Linked DNA regions of Homo sapiens: regions 1, 2, 3, 4, 5 and 6 are each linked to region 7. The links are contacts of gene promoters, found by promoter capture Hi-C in blood cells and fetal thymus (Javierre and others, 2016). All regions are on one chromosome and are shown on one strand. Each heading gives the region's core, a stretch centred on a gene start or on the middle of the fragment in contact. The rest is flanking DNA. Distances are from core to core; before and after follow the strand shown.

What was found. Contacts are between HindIII fragments. The CHiCAGO score rates a contact against its expected background, and 5 or more counts as called.
Region 1: a fragment that was not itself captured here is called in contact with the fragment with the promoter of APP in region 7 in 1 of 17 cell types (fetal thymus); the score reaches 5.8 in fetal thymus.
Region 2: a contact is called between a fragment that was not itself captured here and the fragment with the promoter of APP in region 7, in 4 of 17 cell types (erythroblasts, fetal thymus, megakaryocytes and 1 more). The highest score is 6.7, in erythroblasts.
Region 3: a fragment that was not itself captured here is called in contact with the fragment with the promoter of APP in region 7 in 1 of 17 cell types (endothelial precursors); the score reaches 10.2 in endothelial precursors.
Region 4: a contact is called between a fragment that was not itself captured here and the fragment with the promoter of APP in region 7, in 12 of 17 cell types (fetal thymus, non-activated CD4 T cells, naive CD4 T cells and 9 more). The highest score is 18.9, in fetal thymus.
Region 5: a fragment that was not itself captured here is called in contact with the fragment with the promoter of APP in region 7 in 7 of 17 cell types (fetal thymus, naive CD4 T cells, endothelial precursors and 4 more); the score reaches 7.6 in fetal thymus.
Region 6: a contact is called between a fragment that was not itself captured here and the fragment with the promoter of APP in region 7, in 1 of 17 cell types (megakaryocytes). The highest score is 5.8, in megakaryocytes.

What each region holds. Positions count from the first base shown.
Region 1 is chr21:25,703,667-25,706,819 of GRCh38, forward strand. JAM2 (junctional adhesion molecule 2) reads left to right here. Exons shown (of 10, transcript NM_021219.4): 7 at 2,313-2,420. The region is part of intron 1 of LOC124905002 (a long non-coding RNA gene); the gene reads right to left. Among named protein-coding and RNA genes, the nearest start is that of ATP5PF, 30 kb to the right of the region's middle. The HindIII fragment of the contact is 864 bases long and covers 1,250-2,113 here.
Region 2 is chr21:25,720,961-25,723,855 of GRCh38, forward strand. No RefSeq gene overlaps it. Among named protein-coding and RNA genes, the nearest start is that of ATP5PF, 12 kb to the right of the region's middle. The HindIII fragment of the contact is 4,581 bases long and covers 1-2,895 here.
Region 3 is chr21:26,582,898-26,586,055 of GRCh38, forward strand. No RefSeq gene overlaps it. Among named protein-coding and RNA genes, the nearest start is that of CYYR1, 11 kb to the left of the region's middle. The HindIII fragment of the contact is 3,264 bases long and covers 1-2,919 here.
Region 4 is chr21:25,738,273-25,741,264 of GRCh38, forward strand. The region is part of intron 1 of GABPA (GA binding protein transcription factor subunit alpha); the gene reads left to right. Among named protein-coding and RNA genes, the nearest start is that of GABPA, 4.8 kb to the left of the region's middle. The HindIII fragment of the contact is 2,157 bases long and covers 502-2,658 here.
Region 5 is chr21:25,757,708-25,760,544 of GRCh38, forward strand. GABPA (GA binding protein transcription factor subunit alpha) reads left to right here. Exons shown (of 10, transcript NM_002040.4): 6 at 303-497. Among named protein-coding and RNA genes, the nearest start is that of GABPA, 24 kb to the left of the region's middle. The HindIII fragment of the contact is 1,468 bases long and covers 535-2,002 here.
Region 6 is chr21:26,564,869-26,567,886 of GRCh38, forward strand. It overlaps CYYR1 (cysteine and tyrosine rich 1), which reads right to left. Exons shown (of 4, transcript NM_001320768.2): 2 at 1,398-1,500. The region is part of intron 3 of CYYR1-AS1 (CYYR1 antisense RNA 1); the gene reads left to right. Among named protein-coding and RNA genes, the nearest start is that of CYYR1, 6.9 kb to the right of the region's middle. The HindIII fragment of the contact is 9,781 bases long and covers 1-3,018 here.
Region 7 is chr21:26,169,052-26,172,231 of GRCh38, forward strand. APP (amyloid beta precursor protein) reads right to left here and starts at 1,719. Exons shown (of 18, transcript NM_000484.4): 1 at 1,513-1,719. The coding sequence starts at 1,569. It overlaps APP-DT (APP divergent transcript), which reads left to right and starts at 1,816. Exons shown (of 4, transcript NR_186396.1): 1 at 1,816-2,001. RefSeq lists enhancers at 222-431, 930-1,454 and silencers at 472-741, 1,242-2,071. The HindIII fragment of the contact is 2,642 bases long and covers 1-2,204 here.

The sequences.
Region 1 (3,153 bases), core at 432-2,931, 470 kb before region 7:
AAAACTCCAGCAGACTCCACCCACACTGGGCCTTTCAGCAGTTTAGTTCCTTTTCTTTCAGTAAAAAAAATGGTACCTTCCTTTTATAAAGACTTTTTTTTCAAAAAAAAAAAAACACAAAATATTTTCATACTTAATGTTACATTTTCTCTTCACTGAGGCATAATATGGCTGTATGACTTGCTCAACATCACAGAAAATGGTGAACAGGATGTAAGAAGTTAACTTACTCCTTATCTATTACTCTTCTGTCTCCCATTTCACTGAAGAAAAATAACATAAAATTCATACTACAACTTAGCACTTACAGAACAAGACAATTTTTTGTCAGTAGTTTCTTTTAGGGTGAATCCTTCCTTCATAGATGTCAAATTCATTGACAAACTACAAGACAGTTTTTTTTTTTTGTCAGATAATAGCCCTTACTTTGAATGCTTCATAGATGTCAGATTTAATGACTACTACAAAGTAAATAGAAGGTACACTTTGGTTCTCAGGAATTTCACTTACTGATTTGACTTTGCCTAAGATTATGATTACTGTAGATTTTTTTCTCTCTCTGCTCTTTTTAATCCAAGTAAATAAAAAGCTGAATCTTATTGACCTCTCAATACCCAAGCAAACTGAGTTTATACCAAGCAATAATTAATGTTTTCTACTCTGGTCAAATTACTTAACCTTTCAAAAGACTTATCAAGTTTTCTTTTTTAAAAAAATCAATTAATATTTTGGAGGTATTTAAGAAAATTAATAACACACTTGGCATTAGGAAAGAATTTCGAGACCAGAAGTTTTTATGATAAGCAGATTCACTTAAACAGTATCTCTAAAAAGATCATTTCCAAAATGTACATTGCTTTAAAATATTTAAATTATTTTTGAGAAAATGCTATGTAATATTTTCTCTAGGTTATTTAATCATAGGCTAATTAAAACTTGCTTTGTAAAATGGGAACTCTTTGAAGAATTGCTCCTTTAATAAATACATGGGAAGTATCTAAATGGCAGAAGAGTGTGGCTCATAAAATCCTCATGGACAAGATGGAGAAATATGGTCCAAACAATATTTTGGTGGATCCACACACAGTTGAATCCCATGCTCAGAGAATGTTAATAAATTGTGTTGTATGACAGGAGGTGTCTGCTAGCCTGTTACATAGTTGTTTCCTAAACAAATCCATGTTCATCATGTTATTAATGACTTGAATGAGAGTATTTTTAATAAAATTCTCAATTTGCAGAAATGTTAAGCTTGGAAGGTTAATAATGTAATTATTAGGCAACAGAATCAATCTGAGAAGAAGAAAAAAACTTCACAGTAGTTATTTCCAAACTTGGGTTCAAAAAATCCAGTTGCATTACATTAGAGGACGGATGCCTTAACAGTCATAGGAAAAGCCTCAGAGAATTTAATTCATTTTTCATAAATGGGATGACAGTTTAGTTGCATATATGTATATGACTGTGTATGTGTGTATACACCCATATACATATAATTGTATATCTACACCCATATAATTCAAGAAGGAACGTATTTCTTACACTTAGTTTTACAGAATAACAATGACATGTGCTTTTTTTTAAGAGACAGTCTTGCTCTGTCACCCAGACTGGAGAGAAGTAGTGCAATCATAGTTCACTATAATCTGAAACTCCTAGGCTCAAGTGATCCTCCAACCTCAGCCTCCTGAGTAGCTGGGACTCCAGGAATGCACCACCATACCCGGATAATTTTTTTAATTTTTTTATTTTTTAGAGATGGATTCTTGCTATGTTGCCTAGGCTGGTCTCAAATTCCTAGCCTCAAGCAGTCCTCCCACCTCAGCCTCCTGAGTAGCTGGGATTACAGGCATGAGTCAACATGCCTGGCACCATGTGTTTTCTTTGACGTTGAGTTTTTCTTTATTTGTGAAATTGACACAGTTGATGATGTAGGAGAATTTTAAGTAAGACGTGGGGTAGGGAGTGGCAGTAGAATACTTGAACTCATTGAACTTCAAAGATTGCTTCCAGTCTTTTAATCCTGTGAATTATTACACATCTCCAAATGAATGCAAAAGAATACATTTTATTTTTTAATCTGAGAAGTTTTTAAAATTTAGTATTTTTCCAAAGCTTAAGTTCTGTTAATATTTTTAATCAATTTTGAACCATGTCTTAGAAGTGAGTTAGTTGAACAGGCTTCACAATCGTTAAAGTATGCTTTATGATATAGCTGCAAAGGGGATCTTTTTTTGAACCTTTTCAATTTAATGACTGCATCTGTCCGTGTAATCCACATATATTTATGCGTAATTTATTTTACATTCCAGATGATCTCAACATAAGTGGCATCATAGCAGCCGTAGTAGTTGTGGCCTTAGTGATTTCCGTTTGTGGCCTTGGTGTATGCTATGCTCAGAGGAAAGGCTACTTTTCAAGTAAGTGAATTTCACCCTTCTTTGGCAGATAACTTTCTATGGCTATGGAGTTTATTTATGAGATACTGTTTCTCCTAGGAAGTTGTTTTTTTGTTTGTTTGTTTGTTTTTCAGACAGAGTCTTGCTCTGTTGCCCAGGCTGGAGTGCAGTGGTGGCAAAATCTCCACTCAATACAACCTCCACCTCCCAGGTTCAAGTGATTCTCATGTCTCAGCCTCCCAAATAGCTGGGATTGCAAGTGTGCACCAACACACCCAGCTCATCTTTGTATTTTTAGTACAGATGGGGTTTCGCTATGTTGGCCAGGCTGGTCTCGAACTCCTGGCCTCAAGTGATCTGCCTGCCTTGGCCTTCCAAAGTGCTGGGATTACAGGTGTGAGCTATTGTGCCCGGCCCTCTCCTAGCAAGTTTTAACAAACTCTGGAGAATATTGTTCATTTATTTTCTGCTATAGAAAATGTTCAGGATGACATGCAGGTGGCTTATGAAACACCTTGGCAAACCTAGGGAGAAAAGGCAGAACTGCCTAGTTGCACATTCCAGGGAGCACCACAGAATATGCAAGAGGCATCCTTGGAGTGGTGCAGTGCAGCGAGACAGAGATATTCAATGTGAACGGATATTTATAGTATCTTTGCATGTTTTTAAGATTTTTTTTTGTTTGTTTTTTTGAGACGGAGTCTCACTGTGTCGCCCAGGCTGGAGTGCAGTAGCGCAATTTCGGCTCACTGCA
Region 2 (2,895 bases), core at 203-2,702, 450 kb before region 7:
AAACAAGTATCTCACTTTCTAGGGAAAATGAAGGCTGGACGCAGTGGCTCACACCTGTAATCCCAGCACTTTGGGAGGCTGAGGTGGGAGGATCATTGGAATCTAGAAGTTCGAGAACAGCATGGGTGACGTAGTGAGACTGTCTCAAAAAACTGAAAAACTAGCTGGGTGTGGTGACATGCACCTGTAGTCCCAGCTACTCGGGAGGCTGAGACAGGAGGATCACTTGAGCCCAGAAGGTTGAGGCTGCAGTGAGCTGTGATCACACCACTGCAACTCTAGCCTGGGCAAAAGAGTGACACCTTGTTTCAAGAAAAGAAAAGAAAAAAAAAAAGAAAAGAAAAAATACATTGGGTATAAATACCCCTTCACTGTTGATGAAGAGACAGCCACCCTGAAATAATTACTCCAGTCCACCACTACTCTTTACCCTTCACCTCATCACACAGTCCATATAAGCTGAAGTGTGTATGGATGGATTTGGGATGGGAAGGAACGAGGGGATGGAAAGAGACAGAGAATGAGTTTGCCAAAGTCATAAGGAGTACTATTCCCCCAGGTCACCCCCAAAGGAAGTAAAGAGAATATTTAAGACATCACTTGCAAAAACTGAAGGCACCTGCCAAGGAAATAGGAGCTATTTGAGCCAGTGGAAAGGGAGCTGGAAAAAAATATCAAGAAGAGGGGGAGGGCCAGGCGTGGTAGTGCATGCCTGTAGCCTGTAGCCACTCTGGAGGCTGAACTGGGGGGATTGCTTAAGCCCAGGAGTTCAAGGCTGCAGTGAGCTATGATCAAGCCACTGCCTGGGCAACAGAACAAAAGCCCATCTCTTAAAAAAAAGGAGAGCGAAAAAAATTTGCCAGGCATGGTGGCGGGTGCCTGTAGTCCCAGCTACTCGGGAGGCTGAGGCAGGAGAATGGCGTGAACCCGGGTGGTGGAGCTTGCAGTGAGCCGAGATCGCGCCACTGCACTCCAGCCTGGGCAACAGAGCAAGACTCCATCTCAAAAAAAAAAAAAAAGAGCAAAGTAGGGGAGGATGGTGAAATATACCTGTTTTCCCAAGATTTCTTAGGTCAAGGACATGAGTGTCCCGTGGATCCAGTAGGCACCATTGGAAGTAGTTGGCGTTCAGCCTTCTTGCCAGTGTCTCACCAGACCAAACATTGGAAACAGTGTGTACTTACCATTCCAGTGGGAGCTAAGGGGTGTTTGGAAGGGAGTTGGCATGAACCTGCCATTTAAGGGAATGGAATCTGTACAACTGGGAAGACCTCAGCCACAGGGCCCCGCAAGAACTCATACATGCACCTTACTAGAGAGCTAGCATTTGGAAGGCTGCTACACCAGGAGCAGCAACAATCAGAGAAATAGTAAAAAACAAACAAAAAAGCCTACACTAAATGTTAAATAAGTAAAAATTGCCTAGCCTTCCTGGGTTACTATTAAAGGTAGTGCTATGTAAGTAACAGACACATGTCCCTTTCTAGTTCCCCTTACCTCTCCTCAACTCAAATTTCCTCTTCGTATAAGGACACCAGTCAGATAGGATTAAGACCTACCCTAAAGGTCTCATTTTAACTTAAAGTCCCTGTCTCCAAAGTCACATTATGAGGTATTGGAGGTTGGGCTTCAATTCAATCAAAGTATGAATTTTGGGGAAACACAATTCTTCATAACACCAGGCAAGGGGTAAAATAGCCATTTTAAATAACCACAAGGCTGAGATCATTTGTCATAATCACATAAGGTGGTTCTGAATGGTTAAGTGCAGGACAAGGAGTGACCTGGCAGGCTGAAGTGCTGCACAAAGGCCAGCATTTGCAGGGTTGGAGCAGCCTAGCCAAAAAGAGGAAGGGGCTCTGAGGAAGACGAAGCCTTGGTTAAGATCTGTGACTCACAGCACCACGAGAGGTTCAGTTGGAAAACAGGGAGTGCTTGCCTGACCAAAATTTAAATGTAAATGCACAGCCCTGTAATATAGGGCACGAGAATAGGATGCTTCTTACAGTCAAACAGAACCCTGTTTCAATAATGAACAAAGAGACTGGGACATGCAAGCAATTCCACAGTTGTGAGACAAGTAAAAAATGTGTTATGAGATAACTGTGTTAGCTGATAAAAGGTAAAATTCAACTAAACTTTGAATGAAGAAGGAGGTAAAGAGACAGGGAGAGGAAGCATATGCAGAAAAGGTCAGTTTGTTCTCTACTGACTGGCAGTTCCAGCTGACACAAGATGGCTTTGCAGCCACAGGTAGGTGGAGGAGAGCTGTTTCAGGGGAGGTTAAAGGAAGACCCTGGGACAACTAGACTTCCTCGATTACCTTTAGATAGTGCCATAATTAGACACCCGATTCTCTGTTCCAAAGCCTGCAATTATTTAAATAAAAGTAGTTCAACTGTTCTGTCACTGCTTAGCCACATTTGAAGAAAAGTGGGCTGTTTCTTCCTACTGTACTGCCCTCCCCAATTCCGTCTCTACACATCGTATTAATCATATCTATGTCATTAGGAAATATTTGTAGATCTTTCAAAAAGGTATTCCCTAGCAGGTTTTGCCTTCAGCTACAGTATGCCATAATAAAAATCTATTCCCTTTGGCCCAGGCGCAGTGGCTCAAGCCCGTAATCCCAACACTTTGGGAGGCCGAGGTGGGTGGATCACCTGAGGTCAGGAGTTTGAGACTAGCCTGGCCAACATGGTGAAACCCTGTCTCTACTAAAAATACAAAAATTAGCCGGGCATGGTGGCGCACACCTGTAATCCCAGCTACCCAGGAGGCTGAGGCAGGAGAATTGCTTGAACCTGGGCAACAGAGCGAGACTCCATCTCCAAAAAAAAAAAAAGAACACTGTTGGCTTCACACTTTTACACTTTTAAAGAAAATCTTAAAAAT
Region 3 (3,158 bases), core at 38-2,537, 410 kb after region 7:
AACCTATATTTGCTAATTTTTCCTTTCCTACCAATATGCAATCTACAGGGAGACATTAAGCCGTGCAAATATCCTGCTCTTCAGCAAATTTTCCTCCTTTAGGTTTAACACACATTAGTAATTTTTGCTTGAAGCAATCTTTACTGTTATGGATGCAAATTATCATGTTTTGAACTCCAGCTTTCCCTCTGTCTATTCACCAGTTGTTGCTCGTCATTCAAAATAAGAATGCCTCTCCCTCATTGATTGATTGATTGTGAGTATGGACTTAAGAATTCCTACTTTTTCAAGAGTTTATAATTCATTAATCTTAAAATGTCCCATTTTGGGCCAGTGGAGCATCTTCAAGCTAGCTATTGTGTCCTTGTGACACAACCCCACAAGTGTTTTGGGAATTTCTTAACTTTTTGACATAAAAGATATCCCAGGTTCATTTTGAATCTTCTCTGCTCCAGCCCTGAAATCAGTCATTTCTCTGAGGAGTTCTGGGTCCTTTTAGTGGATAATGGTCTTAGAGATCAAAGTACCCTAGAACTTAAAGTATAATAATAATAAAAAAAAAGAATGGGGAAAAGAAAGAAATCAAAGTGCATGTTACTGCTGGAGTGCCTTTGTATCTTGTCTCTTTCAGTATAAGAGCTAGGAAATATATGCATGTTTTACACACACACACACACACACGGGCACTCAGATATATATATGTATATATGTAGCTGTGTATATATATATATAATGTGTATATATATATATCATCACCATAGGGCTGTTCCTTGACTTCTCTCACTCCATATTTGTAACTCTTTTTACACTTGCTATTTCTTCACTCACTCCTGTAATACATCTAAAACAGTTTCAGAATTGAATTGCTCTGTCCATACCACAACATAAAATAACAATACAAAAAAAAAACACTAAAAAGAATTTAGATTGTGCTTTCAATTAATTCTCCCCCCAACTCCACCCAAGACTGAGGGCGTATAGTCAGTTACTGTGTTCATCACTTACTTGAGTTAGTGCTCCCCTACCCCTGCCAACTTTAATTCACTTGAAATGCATTTGGGTTCATTTATTTCCATTTGCTTTCGGTTTTACTTAGGTTGCTGCTATTGGTGCTGCTATTGTTTGCTTTGTTTTCTCTCCCATCATTGTTGACTTGTTTTTTGAATATGTAGAACATTAGAGAGCTTCTAAAAGTAAAAAAAAAAAATAAATACCAAAGGCTATATTCAGGGAAGTGTTAATCCTTCCCGTATGCCTCCATTCCAGTCTCCCTGTTCCTCTAACATAACCGGTGGTCATGATTTTCTAGTTTCTCTCTAATGTGTTTCTTTTTTAATAAAGATAAGCAGATTTTTTAGTAGCTTGTTGTGGTGATATATGCAAAGCAATTCTGAAATTATTTTAGATGTATTATAGGATTGTGGAATGGGTAACAGCAAGGAAGAACCTCGTGGTGATGGATTGAAATTAGAGTTATTGGTACAGATTTCATTATTTCCCTTTCCTTCTTACACGGAAGATAGCATACTGTATATGTTCTTTTGCACTATTTTTGTTTTTTGTTTGTACTGAATGATATATCCAGGAGATCATTCCATATCAGTTCCTAGAGATTGTCCTCATTCATCTATTGTTGCTCCATAGTTTACACGAAATGTGTACCATTGTTTTCTCATATGTTTGAATATTTACTTATCGGTATTTGCAATAGCAAATAATGCTGCAATGAATAACCTTAATAACCTTGAAAATATGTATTTTCTTGTTGTTGGAGCTATATCTCAGGGTAAATTTGCAGAAGTGGTAACGCATTTTGCTAAATATTGCCAAATCCTGCTCTAGAGGGACTGTGACATTTTGCATTCCCAGCAGTAATGTATTCCTTACAACTTTGCCTACATAATATATTGCTGAGCTTTTGGATTTTTTCTTTATTGCCAATTTGATGGAAGAGTTGATTTTTCTTGCATTTCTCTTATGAGTGAAATTGAACATCACAGGACTGTTAGTTATAATCTTTTTGTGAGTTACTTATTCAAATCTTTGCCCATTTTTCTTTAGGATTTTGGTGTTTTTCCCTCAATTTTAAAAATTTCTTTGTATATTAGGGATGTTAGATTTTTTAAAGTGGTATATGTTGCAATTTCTTTCACTTATGGTGTTCATGCCATACAAAGGATTTAATTTTAAAGAGGTCAAATGTAATAATTTTCTTTTTGTGGTGCCTGGGTTGTGAAGTTTTGGGCAGAAAGTCTTTTTCTACTCTCAGATTGTAGAGGAACTTACCCTCAATAATAATACTTTTGCAGTTTCATATTATACATTTCGATTTCTGTGTTGTTAGATACATAACTCCGTAGGGTAGCAGGATATACATTAGCATGTAACAACAAATACCGTTTAAATAGATGAATTATAACTAGGTAAATGTATGTTTCTTTTGTTGGTGAGAGGTTCTATGTGGAGATTTGAAATCTGATGACTATCATTGTTTTCCAATTGAAGGTCTGATGCATTGATTTTAATACAACTGGAAATTCTTCTAGTGGATGATATCTTATTTCTGCTTGCAGTACAGAGAATGATATGGAAAAACTAATGGAATGCCTGTTTGCTTAAAACATGGAAATTTATTCTGTAGTAATAAACAAATATAAATGTCATTCATATTATGACAATTTTGTCTTTTTGGAACATACAAATATTTCACCATACAAAGAGAAAAAAATGGGAAACATTCTTTGTTTAATTAAAGCAAGTCTCCCACTCTATATGTTTGTAAAATAACACTATGTTAATTTGAATTTTGCAAAAGGAAAAGTATCATCCATCTTACCACTATTTTTCTTTTCTTTTTTGACGGAGGTGGGTTACTTTCTTATTTAGACTTTATAGGCATACATAACTTCACGTAATTGAAGCTTACATAATGTTTGTATAATTTTATCTTCTTTTTAAAGTTAATATTGTATCCTAAGCATTTCCCATATCTGTGAAGCCTCCATAGTTGCTATTTTCCATAGCTGCTTAGTATTCCACCAGGTTGTTTTAGCTATTTTACTCAGCTCTCCCTTCACTGTTGGAATAGCCTTCTTACTTATCTCTCAATTTCCATTCTTGCTCATATCCAAATAGTTTTCCAGACATTACTTGTGTAA
Region 4 (2,992 bases), core at 330-2,829, 430 kb before region 7:
TAAATTGAACTTTTGAATGATTTGAATTTGGGCATTTCTTTGTATCCTGAGTTATTTTGGTTTCCCGTTATGTGAATATCCTTTTCCTATGCTTTAACTACTTTTCTAATTTGTCCCTTTTTTTGGTTATCAAATTCCAGGCCATTGTCTATTCCATCGTCACTTTTGGGTATTGGAAACATCTTTCCATTCTGTAGCCTGTCTGTTGAACATAAATCTTGATTTTTATGTAATCAGATTTTTCTCCTTACGGTTATGTTCTTGGAATTTTATTTAAGAAATCTTTTTCTATCCTGAGACCACAAAAATGTCCCCACCATTTTCTTCTGTTTCATAGTTTTGCCTTGTATGTTTAATCCTTTAAGGCATGTGTAGTTCATTTTATATGGTGTGAAATAGTTCTTATTCATTTATTCAACACATATTGGTGGAGTGCCTGCTGAAGGTAGTACTCTTCAGAGTACTTTGTATATATTTGTGAACACATATTCTTGCCCTGGAAGCTTATGTTGTCCTTCAAGGTAGATCCCTACTCGGTTTCCACCTGTTTTCTTCAGCCCTCAGGATGAATTCCACAATTTTACACATAGCACCAGTTAAGGAATAGGCTTTATTGGAGAAAAGGAAGGCTTATTAGACCAGCATCAGCAAGAAAAAAAAAAACCAAAAACAGAGGGTCTTCATTTCTTCATCATCCCCAAAAAAGCCTGCTGGAGCCTGCGCATTCTGCTAGATATGCACGTGAACAGAATCTGCGCAGTCGGCTAGATGTGCTTGTGAACGGAGCCTGCGCAGTCTGCTCCATATGCATGCGTCCATCCCAGTGGAGAACCTTACCCTTTTATTGTTCGTCCTTAAAGGGCAAGCCTGAGAGCAACCTTAATTACGTGGGAAAAATTAGATCATTTTGTATCAGGCAGTCTAGATTTGGGTGCCAGCTATTTGTCAGAAAACCAGCTACCCCATAGTTGGAGATATTGAGAACTTAGGAGAGTTATAGCCCTTTCTAAAGTGGGAAGGGAGACTCAGTTTCTTAATGCTAGTGTAACAAATTATGCAAATTTAGTGGCTTAAAAACACCACCTGTTTATTATCTTACAGTTTTGGAGTCAGAAATATGAAGTAGGTCTCTGGGCTAAAATGAGGTGTTGCCAGTGCTGTTTTTCTAGAGCCTTCGAGGGAGAATCCGTTCCTTGTCTAGCTTTCAGAAGCTACCTGCATTCCTTGGCTCAAAGCTCCTTTCCTCCATCTTCAAAGCCAGTCACAGCTAACCGGCAGATCTTCACATTGAATCACTCTGGCTCTCTCTTCCAATTTCCTCTTCTACTTTTAAGGACCTTCTACTTTTATTTATTTGTTTCAAGAGATAGGGTCTCGCTGTTGCCCAGGAGGGAGTGCAGTGGCACGATCATCATTGACTGCAGCCTCGACTCCTGGTCTCAAGCGATCTTCTCACTTCAGCCTCCCAAGTAGCTAGGACAACAGTTGCACACCACCATGCCTGGCTAATTTTAAAAATGTTTTTATAGGAGACAGGTTCTTTTTATGTTGCCCAGGCTGGTCTTGAACTCATGGGTTCAAACAGTCCTCTCTCCTCGATCTCCCAGAGTATTAGGATTACAGGCATGAGGCACCGTATCTGGCCCTAGCTGCGTTTTAAAAACGATCACACTCTGGCCGTTGTATTGACTGAGAATAGACTGTGAGGGGACAAGAGTGGACACAGGGACCCCCTTTAGGAGATTGTTGCAGTACTCCAGGTAAGGGGTGGTGGTGGCTGTTGTACTGATATACGCAATACAGAGCCTATATTTGGACAACCATGGTTCATCCCCATCTGGAATGATACCTACTTAGGTTGATACACCAAAACTGTGACATGGAGCCACAAGTGGTTTAGCCTCACCTCTGAATAGCGTTCGTATGAGATGGAGCTCAAAATAAGATTGCTCTATGCAAAGCATTTGAATGCAGTGCCTGATGCTCGGCGAGTAATGGTTAATACAAATGAACATTTAAATTCTTCATTTAGTGAAATCTTGTAAGTGGGAGCACAACTCTTTTGTAAATGTCGAAATACCAAATTTAGTGGAGCGTTCCTTTTAAAGGTACGCCTCTTTTTAGATGTGGTAGTACGCTTAGAATAACTACTCAGAAGGTGCTGTGGACTGAAAGTGCGTATGGAATTCAAAGACATTCATTGACCTACTGCGAGGTAGTTAATAACAGAACCTGGTACTTAACAGTATTAACACCTCAGACATGTCCACAAAGAAATATCTATGTATATTAGCTATTTGTGTATTCTTTAGCATTTTTAAAATTCTAATGTTTTTGTATCAGTGGTTTTAAGCAATAGATAAAAATTTTACATGGGATAATTAAAAACTGAAGTAGTGGTCTGTTTAAAATAAAACCACCTCTGAAAAAATCATTAAAAATTTTCTACTGTGTGTAATCAGGGAAATAATGTGCATATCTGTAATTTGTTACTTTGTTTTGCTGTTTTATAATATTCTTGCATTTATAAGAGACATCATTTGTACCAAATCCTAGCTGATTAATTTGCATATCATTGTATCAGTGTGATACTTTGCAGTAAATTCTGCTACTAAGGTACAACTTTCAGCTGAATAAACATAGTTCATCTCCATGTTAAGCTTCAGGTTTGAATCTGTTATTGAGACTGAGTTGCTTTAATATAGTTAACAGACCCTTAACTTAATTTTGAGGTAACTTGTTGATTGCAATTGGTCCCGAAAACATCTCAGTAAATCCAGTAGATTAATGAAGTTGTCATGTCAGGTTAATAAACACCAGTTTTTTAAAAAATTAGTTTATAAATGTCATTTGTGGATTTTCTTTATTTTATTTTTCAAACAGGGTCTCTTGTCGCCCATACTGGAGTGCAGTGGTGCGATCATGGCTCACTGCAGCCTCAGCCTCCTGGGCTCAGGTGATCCTCCCACCTCAGCCTCCGAAGTATTAATAG
Region 5 (2,837 bases), core at 19-2,518, 410 kb before region 7:
TATTCTTTCATTTGGCCCACTGGAGAGCAGTTTTGCATTTTGTTTTTCTTGATACAGTTCCAGCTGAGGTTGAACCAAGTGACTGCATCAGAAATTTAGATTAAGAAATTGGAAAGGAGCTGAGGAAAAAATTACAGCATAATTTTTTTTTTTTTTTTTTTTTTTGCTTCATATAGTAAGTTTACCTCATATACTTGGGGAAAGAAAACATCTGTGTGTATGTGTGTGTATTGAGAAGTTAACTGTAAATTTACACAGTATCTAAAATGGAACTAGGCTAAAGTGAATATTTTTCTTTCTAGATCCCATACAGTGGTCCACAGACCAAGTCCTGCATTGGGTGGTTTGGGTAATGAAGGAATTCAGCATGACCGATATAGACCTCACCACACTCAACATTTCGGGGAGAGAATTATGTAGTCTCAACCAAGAAGATTTTTTTCAGCGGGTTCCTCGGGGAGAAATTCTCTGGAGTCATCTGGAACTTCTCCGAAAATGTATGAAATTACAGTTATTTCTTTACATTGTAATTTAAGCTTAATTTTATTTCCTTGTAACTTTGTTTTCATCTTAGTTGTTTATTGATAATGATAAGTAATAAGCAATAATAATTAACATTTATTTACTGTATAATGCTATGCTGAAAGCTCTATATGTTCTTTAATTCCTATAGTAACACCATAAGTCATTACTTTGCTTATTTTTTAGATAGGAAAGTGAGGCTTTGAGAGCCCCATAAAGTCACAGCTAGGAAGTGGCAGAGCCAGGATTCAAGCCCAGGCTAACATTAGAATCCAAGTTCTTAAATCAGATGCTGTGCCCTACACTTAGCCCTCTTCATATATTCCATTTGTTGCCTTCTGTTTGATCAGCTCTTACATTTACTGCTCATCTAGAAACGGAAGAGATCATTTGTTTACAGGTGGCTTCCTACCCATTCTCTTCATTATTGATGAGATTAAATCTTTTTTGAAGTCTTTACTATTAATTGAATAGAGTCTTAAGAGGGAAGGAAGTGTATGCAGCCACCTTTTGGCATTGGAAGCCATTGGTTATAAGTTTTTCCACTTATAACTTGTAAGGCTTCAGACATTATTATGATTAAGTGACCATGTAAAGAAATTGGATGAGGCAGGCAGATCACTTGAGGTTAGAAGTTCGAGACCAGCCTGGCCAACGTGGTGAAACCCCATCTCCACTAAAAATACAAAAAATAGGCGGACAAGGTGGTGCGTGTCTGTAGTCCTACCTACTTGGGAGGTTGAGGCGAGAGGATAGCCTGAACCTGAAAGGCGGAGGTTGCAGTGAGCTGAGACTGCGCCACTACACTCCAGCATGGTGACAGAGCAAGAGTCTCAATTGGAAAAAAAAGAGAGAGAGAAGTTTGGAAACTACTTGGCTGTCCAAGAAAACAAGGCACAAATGTAAATTATTTTTGCTTGAATTTTAATCCATCTTATATTTCAGTCACTGTTAAGACACCGAAAGCAACCCATTCCTTGACAGTTTTGCATATCAGAAATGCTAGCCAGACCCACATATTTTTCAGAACACATGACTACAACATACTCTGACTTTGCTTTTGTATCAGTTATGGATGAAAATGTTAATGATAGCATTTTGTTTTATTATATACCCAATAAGGAGAGAGCTCTGGTGGAGGGATTTTTCCACCGTAATTCAATGCTTGCAGTTTTCATTCAAGGTGCTTTCTCTGGCCAGGTGCAGTGGCTCACTCCTGTAACCCCAGCACTTTGGGAGTCTGGGGTGGGCAGATCACTTGAGATGAGGAGTTGAAAGTGCTTTCTCTGCTGGTGAATAAGAAATGAGCTCTGGAGAGAGGCATTTCTTAATTGTTTATAATTTTATTCTTGTGAGGATTCTCCCAGATGTTTTTTTTAAGTATCTATGATACTAAAAGACTTAGTACATTCATTGTATTTGCAGCATTTATTTCCAATTTCCATTCTTACTAGATAAGTAAGTTGAATGTCCTGGTTGAAGCTTTGTCCTTGGTTTCACAGATTTCCTTCCCTGCAGAGGTTTTGAAATGAATAAGGTAGATTCTGAATTGTGAAACATGTGAGTCATGTTTATTGAAACACTTTCTTATAAGAAATCTCAAGAACACAACAAAGATAGTGCATAGATGGTAGTTTCATTTTTCCCAAATCCACGTTTTTTCCAGTCTTTCCCAGGTCAGCTGTTTGTTGTGGCTGTCTCTTTCTGGTTCTCTTATTGCTTCTCAAACTTTAAAGCTTATTCATAGGCTTTTCCCAGAACAGAAGTCAAAGGTGTCTTGTGTATCTTTCCATTTCCATGCAGTTGAATGAGTCTTCCTCAGAAAAGCTCTGCTCTGGAACCATTGCTTTGTCTTTTAAAGCAACAAAGTCCCACAGCCTAGATGAGTGTCTCACGGAATTTCTTGGTGATCCAGCCATGGTTCTTCACTCTGCCGGGGTAGGGAAATCCCATCTGCTTTGGAAATCTAGTGCTCAGTTCAGAATTGGGAGATGGGCAGGATGATGTGTAAGGGTATTTCTAACAGACTTTCTAGAATTCACAAGTCTTACTTCTCAGAATAGGGTTTTTTGAGCTCAGTGTAGTTAGTACTCTGGTCCCTTCTGTAGAGAGAAGTCTGCAGCCTATCTGCGAAAGGCACTGATTCTGGGACAGAACTGTTAATAACCCAGCCTCTATTATCCATCCTCAGTGATCTCTCAAGAAGCAGCAGTACTGAAGAGGTAGGGCTCCTTCTTCAGATATTTGTATGAGATTATTCACCTGAGCCACCACCTGCCTGCAGTCCCCCCTATGTTGAAACTACATCCAAGTCC
Region 6 (3,018 bases), core at 1-2,500, 400 kb after region 7:
TTAATAATATATTTTGTTACTTTAAATACTGCGAAGTAATATGCCACTGTAAACATCATTATATATTTAAATTTGAGCTGATAAGTTACTGTAAAAAATCATCCTGACAGTTTTCTAATGTAAAAAGTGGGCTTAATTTCTTTTCTACCAAACCATCCATGAAGAAAAATTCAAACATTTTATTGGAGCTTATTTGCATTTCAAGGAAGGCTTAAATTCTATACATGGTTTTTAATTATAGCTTGACATTTCTTTCACATCTATTATAGTGTTCAAGAGTATCCCAAAGTATGATTTTTTATTTTGTATTCTCAGAGTCATGATCTCTAATAGGAGCCTCAACACTGATTCCAGAAAGTTTATGTGGTGCCAGGTTTTCTATTCTCGGGAAATGGAGGATGTGTAACAAGCCGTCTCAACGGACACTTCCCTAAAACAGCCAGGCACATATGACTTAGCGCCTAATGTTTCCCGTTTCCACTTGAGCCTTTGTAGGGCATGAATTAAACAGAACATTTCCCAAATCATCATGATACTGACTTGAAAAACAAGAACAGAAGACAGAGGCACAACCGTTGCTGCTCTCTGAAAGCCATGGGGATTTTGACTCAAGAAATTCTTATGTTCCCAATTCTCAACCCTCGTTTCTCAGTTGTGGGTTCCTCTCTTGAGGAATTGACAAGTGCACACTTTTCCAGCCGTACAGCCCTGGAGGCAGGTCCAGCTTCCATATTTCCCTTTGTCCAGAATCGGCTCTAAAATAAATTTCTAATTTGTTACAAGGAAATGCTTCACAGAGTCTACATGTACATATTTCATTTGTGTTTTTGTGCCTTGTTGTTTATCACTTTGCATTACTCATACCTAGCTTGTCTTAGGCTCTAAACTTGTTTCCTGAAGTTGCTGTATGTGTATCATGTGAGAACTGACATTTCATGTCTCAACTGTTTTTTATTCATAACCTCTCTTTTTCCTGACATCTACTGGATGTATTAAATTAATACATGATGACAAAATAAACTGGCTATAATTAAATAACAAATCTTAACTTGCACAAAACAGACAAAACCATATCACTGATGATGTTATAAAATTATCAATAAAATGATGTCTACTTAAAACATTATTATAGTACACAAAGTAAAACAATAAAAGAATAACTCTTTTTAGTTCCTTTATAATGAAGGCAATTTATTTTGTATATTATTTTGCATATTTTGTCAAACAATATAGTCCATTAGATAGCGATGTGTTAATATCTCCAGTAAAGATTTCATGTCAATAACCAATCTTGAAATCTCTTGCCCACAACTATCACTTAGTACTTTTAAAAGACATAACTGGACAACTGGACAAGAGGAAGAGCATCAGTATTGCCAAATCTGACGAATACTCACGAGAGGATATTCCCAATATAAGCGTAGTAGGAGCAACAGTAGGGCGTGGTTCCATCACAGCAGTAAGATTTGCAATCTTTGCCACACTGAGCAAGGCAATCATCTACAAAACAAAAACCACTTGTGAGCAGTTATAGTTGTAAAATCACAGTTTCAAGAAAAATTATTCTATTTCACAACTTAATCAGCCAATGACCACCCTTTAGTGGTTTTAAATCTTCATTTTCGTCCTCAGAATTCAAAAACATTTGTAAGGATCTAAATTAGCCTCTCTTCCCCATTAGACTCTAAGCTGTAAAGACAAAGACAACTCTTGAATCTTCTACACCAAGCACCATAATTACCAGTCAGGGTTAGTGGAATGAGATAATGAAGGAAGGAATGAAAGAACAATTAAACTACTCAGTCGCTGGATTTGTCCATAGAGTTTTTATAATAATTTTTAAATGATAAAGCCTTCTTGGCCAGGCAAAATGGCTCACGCATGTAATCCCAGCACTTTGGGAGGCTGAGGCGGGTGATCACTTGAGGTCAGGAGTCTGAGACCAGCCTGGCCAACATGATAAAATCCCGTGTCTACTAAAAATACAAAAAGTAGCTGGGTGTCGTGGTGCACACCTGTAATCTCAGCTACTCAGGAGGCTGAGGCAGGAGAATTACTTGAACCCAGGAGATGGAGGTTGCAATGAGCCGAGATCATGCCACTGCACTCCAGCCTGGGCGACACAGTGAGGCTCTGTCTCAAAAAAAAAAAAAAAAAAAAGAGTCTTCTTACTTTAGGGTCTTGTATTCCCAACTGAGCTCAATCAATAGAAGGTTTAGTGGCATATATAATACCAAAAAGGAATAATTTCAAAATGATGTATATTTTTCCATGATAGTGCATTGTATGCTTTTCATTTGGTGACTTTTTTTTACCTGTATAATTACAGTTTGCATATGTGTGGTAACACAATGAGTCTGCATCCTGTAAATTCATCTGGATGAAAAGATGATTGGTTATAGGAAGAAATCCCCAGAGACAATTATTTTGTAAATAATGAAGAGTTTACTTAATGTCAGATTGAGGAATCAGTAAGATATAAAACAGTACTATGTGAAGGGGGAAGAGTTATTTTCTGAATAAAGGATCAGAAATTACTATTTTTTCCATATATTTTGCTGCAAGAAAAATTATACTAAAAATGTTGGATAAAAATTACTCTAGCTTTTAAGTATTCTTTATTCCACCTAAATGATTTATGTTTAACAAGCAAAGGTTGTCACTGACTTAGTCGTATAAGTTATGATGGATATATAAGTTTCAGATACATGATTAGGAAAACATTAAGTACAGTCTGATAATTTATGTTGTACATTTAAGAGTCACAAAATAATCCATTTCCAGCTCAATTCCTGAAGGTAATATTAATTATTATATAAATTATATAAAACTTTTGTTTCCCTATCAAAGCTATAACATTAAAAATACAAAATATTATATTTATGTCTGCACGTCCATGTAACTGATTTATCCAGAAAGGAAATTTTACATTGCTTTTAAATCACTTCCCTGCTAAGATGATACTTTACAAAGAGATGTGATTAAAAGGCAGCAAAGTTCAGTCACCATTAACAATTA
Region 7 (3,180 bases), core at 469-2,968:
CAAACAGGAACCCAACCGAAGTCCGAAGTGAAATACAGCCTCCTCTGGCCCAACTGTCATGCAAACAACTTCTAAGCATCTTCAGATGTAAAGAAAAACAGTCATTGTGCACAGGCGTTAGCTGAATGTTCGAGAGTTGGATGAATGGGGAAGACTTGTTATACACCTAGTGGTGGGTGGATTTCACTAGGCTGCAGCCTCCACACAGCTTTTCTTTGCTGCACTGCAGAGGCGCCATCTTCTCCGTCTTAATCTTCACTCAATTCGATCCTTTTATCTGCACCCTAAAAAAAAGACCCTTCGGACCCTCCCCAGCATCCTGTGCCCCCAGGGGAACTAAACCAGAGTCCCCAGAGCTGCCAGGGAAGAGGCCGCGCCTTAATCAGACAAACGCCTCCTTGGATGCACAGGACAGAGCCCGTGCCTCCCCACCATCCGCCACTGCCCTTTCCAGACGCACATCCCACTCTCCGCCTTATTTCCTCCCCGCCAAGGACTTTACAGCCCAGCACAGAATTAAGCCTCGGAGGTGATCCGAGGGTGGGAAGCAGAGGGGCCCCGAGGCTCCGCCAGAAGCCCCGGCAGCGTCTCTGCCCCCTCCCAGGCGGACGCGCAGCCCCGGGAAGGGAGCCGGGCGGGAGCCTCGGTGGCGCACTGAGACTAACGCGGCTCGGCCCACGGCGAGGGCGGGGTGTCGCGGCTTTTGTTCCCGCGGACCTTCTGCCTCTCAGACAGAGCTTAGGGTGCGAGCGAACTCCCGGGACGTCCAGACTTGGGGAAGGCGCGGGGTGGCTATGGGTCTCCGACCCCTCCCATTTCTCGCAAGTTACACAAAAGGGAGACGCGGACATGCACAAAGTTTGCCTGTGGAAGGCGGTGCGCGACCCCGACGCCGGCTCGGGCTAGGGTCGCACCCAGGCTGCCGCCGCCAGCAGCCGCGAAAAGAGGTTGGAGCAAGGAAGGGGGATGGGGGTGAGAGAGGAAGGTGAAACGAGGCGGAGAACGCAGGGAAAAGCGAGGGGCTCCTAGCTTCCTGGGCTGTCCCGACTCCTCCTCCTCCTCCCCAGGGCCCAAGAGAAAGGAAAGGGCAACGATTCAAGAGCGAAGGACTGGCTTTAGGGACGCTGCGTTTTCGGTTTTCCCCACGTGCTCCTTCCCCCTTCCCCCCTGTCTGAATGTCTCTCGCCTCCCCCGACCCCCGCTTCCAAGGCAGGGACTAAGTCGGGGTCTGGGCTCAGGGTCGCCCCCTACCCTTCTCGCCCCGGGCTGGCGCGGAACCAGGGAGACCAGCGCCTCGCCCGCTCCCTCTCAGCGGGCCGGAGCGCGACTCCCTGGGGCAGGGCTGGGCCGAAAGCGGGGATGCGCTGGACGTCCGCAAGCGGGGGCGGAGAGGAGAGGGGTCCCATTGACGGACCCCCGGCTTCTCTGCATTAAAGACTTGGGTTAAGGTCTTGGGGGGTATCGCGTCCCCACCGTGCAGCCTCCCCCCGCCTTCCGAGGCGCGGCACCCACCTCCAGCGCCCGAGCCGTCCAGGCGGCCAGCAGGAGCAGTGCCAAACCGGGCAGCATCGCGACCCTGCGCGGGGCACCGAGTGCGCTGCTGTGCGAGTGGGATCCGCCGCGTCCTTGCTCTGCCCGCGCCGCCACCGCCGCCGTCTCCCGGGGCCCCCGCGCACGCTCCTCCGCGTGCTCTCGCCTACCGCTGCCGAGGAAACTGACGGAGCCCGAGCGCGGCGGCGGGGCTCAGAGCCAGGCGAGTCAGCTGATCCGGCCCACCCCGCTCGGCACCCGAGAGAGACCCCTAGCGGCGCCGCCGGGGAACTGCGCCCGCTCGCGCCGGGAGGGGCCCTCGCGCCCCGCGCCCACAGGTGCACGCGCCCTTGGCGCCGCCTGCACCCCACGCGCCCCCTCCGCTCCCCGGCCGACGGCCCACCTGGGCTTCGTGAACAGTGGGAGGGAGAGTCTGGGGCCAGGAGAGGGACGGTGCAGGATCAGGGAAAGGTGAGTCCTAGGACGCTGAGGCTCTAGAAAAGTCGAGAGCGCTCCTGCTCGTCCCCGTGAGCTTGAATCATCCGACCCCGCAGGCCTCCCGGGGGTGTCGTATAAAGGACTGCTGCTAGGGTGCGTTTTTATCCGCATTTCGTTTTTTCTCTCGGTTTGGAGAGGTGGGGCAGGCGTTTCTGGAAGAGAATGAGAACGAGTGAAGCTTAAAGGAAATAGGATTTTCTTTGCTTGTTGAGACAGCAAAACCTCATTTTTTAACCCCCAACGTCAAAAGCAGGCACGAGCAACCTGGAATTTCTATCTTTAGAACGAACCAAAGGAGCAAGGCGCAGGACCTGGCAAAGAAGCGGCCAACCCATTTACTTCTTCTTGAAAGCAGGGTTCTGGGCTTGGGTTTTGTTTCTTTCTTATATTTTTGTTTGTTTTTGGTTTTGTTTTGTTAAAGGGGGTGGTCAGTGTGGATTTTGCGGGGCGGGGGGTCTTTTTTTGTTGTTAAGCAGGGATGTAACATCCATCTGAGTTGGGGAAGAAGGAAAAATTAGGAGAGATCATTCGTATTCGACCCCCGTAAATGAGGACTTCTGACCTCAAACGCTGCCCTTGTTCTTCATTGTGTCTGTCCTGAATTATAGAAATGAACCTTCTGCCATGCCACTTTCTCCTGGATTAAACACAAACCGTCCACTGTCCAGTTAGTGTCCAGATAGTTTAGAATGCTCTAGAACTGCCCAGATATATCCCCTGCTCTTGACCTGAAGTAGCATTTAGTTACCAAGCCACAGCCCACTCCACACAGGGCTTGGAGCGAAGGACTGAAGCCAGGGAGTGCTCTGGCCCTTCTGAGGGCTGCACTGCAGCCTGCCTTCTCTCCCTTGCTCATTGCGCTGACAAGGGTGCCTAGGCCCGGGAAGGATGGCTCAGCCAGCGGGGTACAGACTTCCTTCCTGGGAAGTCATTTCTGTACCAGCTCCCCTAAATGTTGTCTTGTGTGTCTTTTCCCGCACTAGGCATTCAGTCTTGACTCTTGGATTACTTTTGCCCCTGAATGTCCTTTGGATGTCCTCAACAAATAAGGACAAATATTTATTGTCATGCAGTATTTGTTTATACGCTTCATGTCATTTACTTCCTACAAAAGCCAAAGAGGCTGTTACTATTATTCCTATTTATACATCA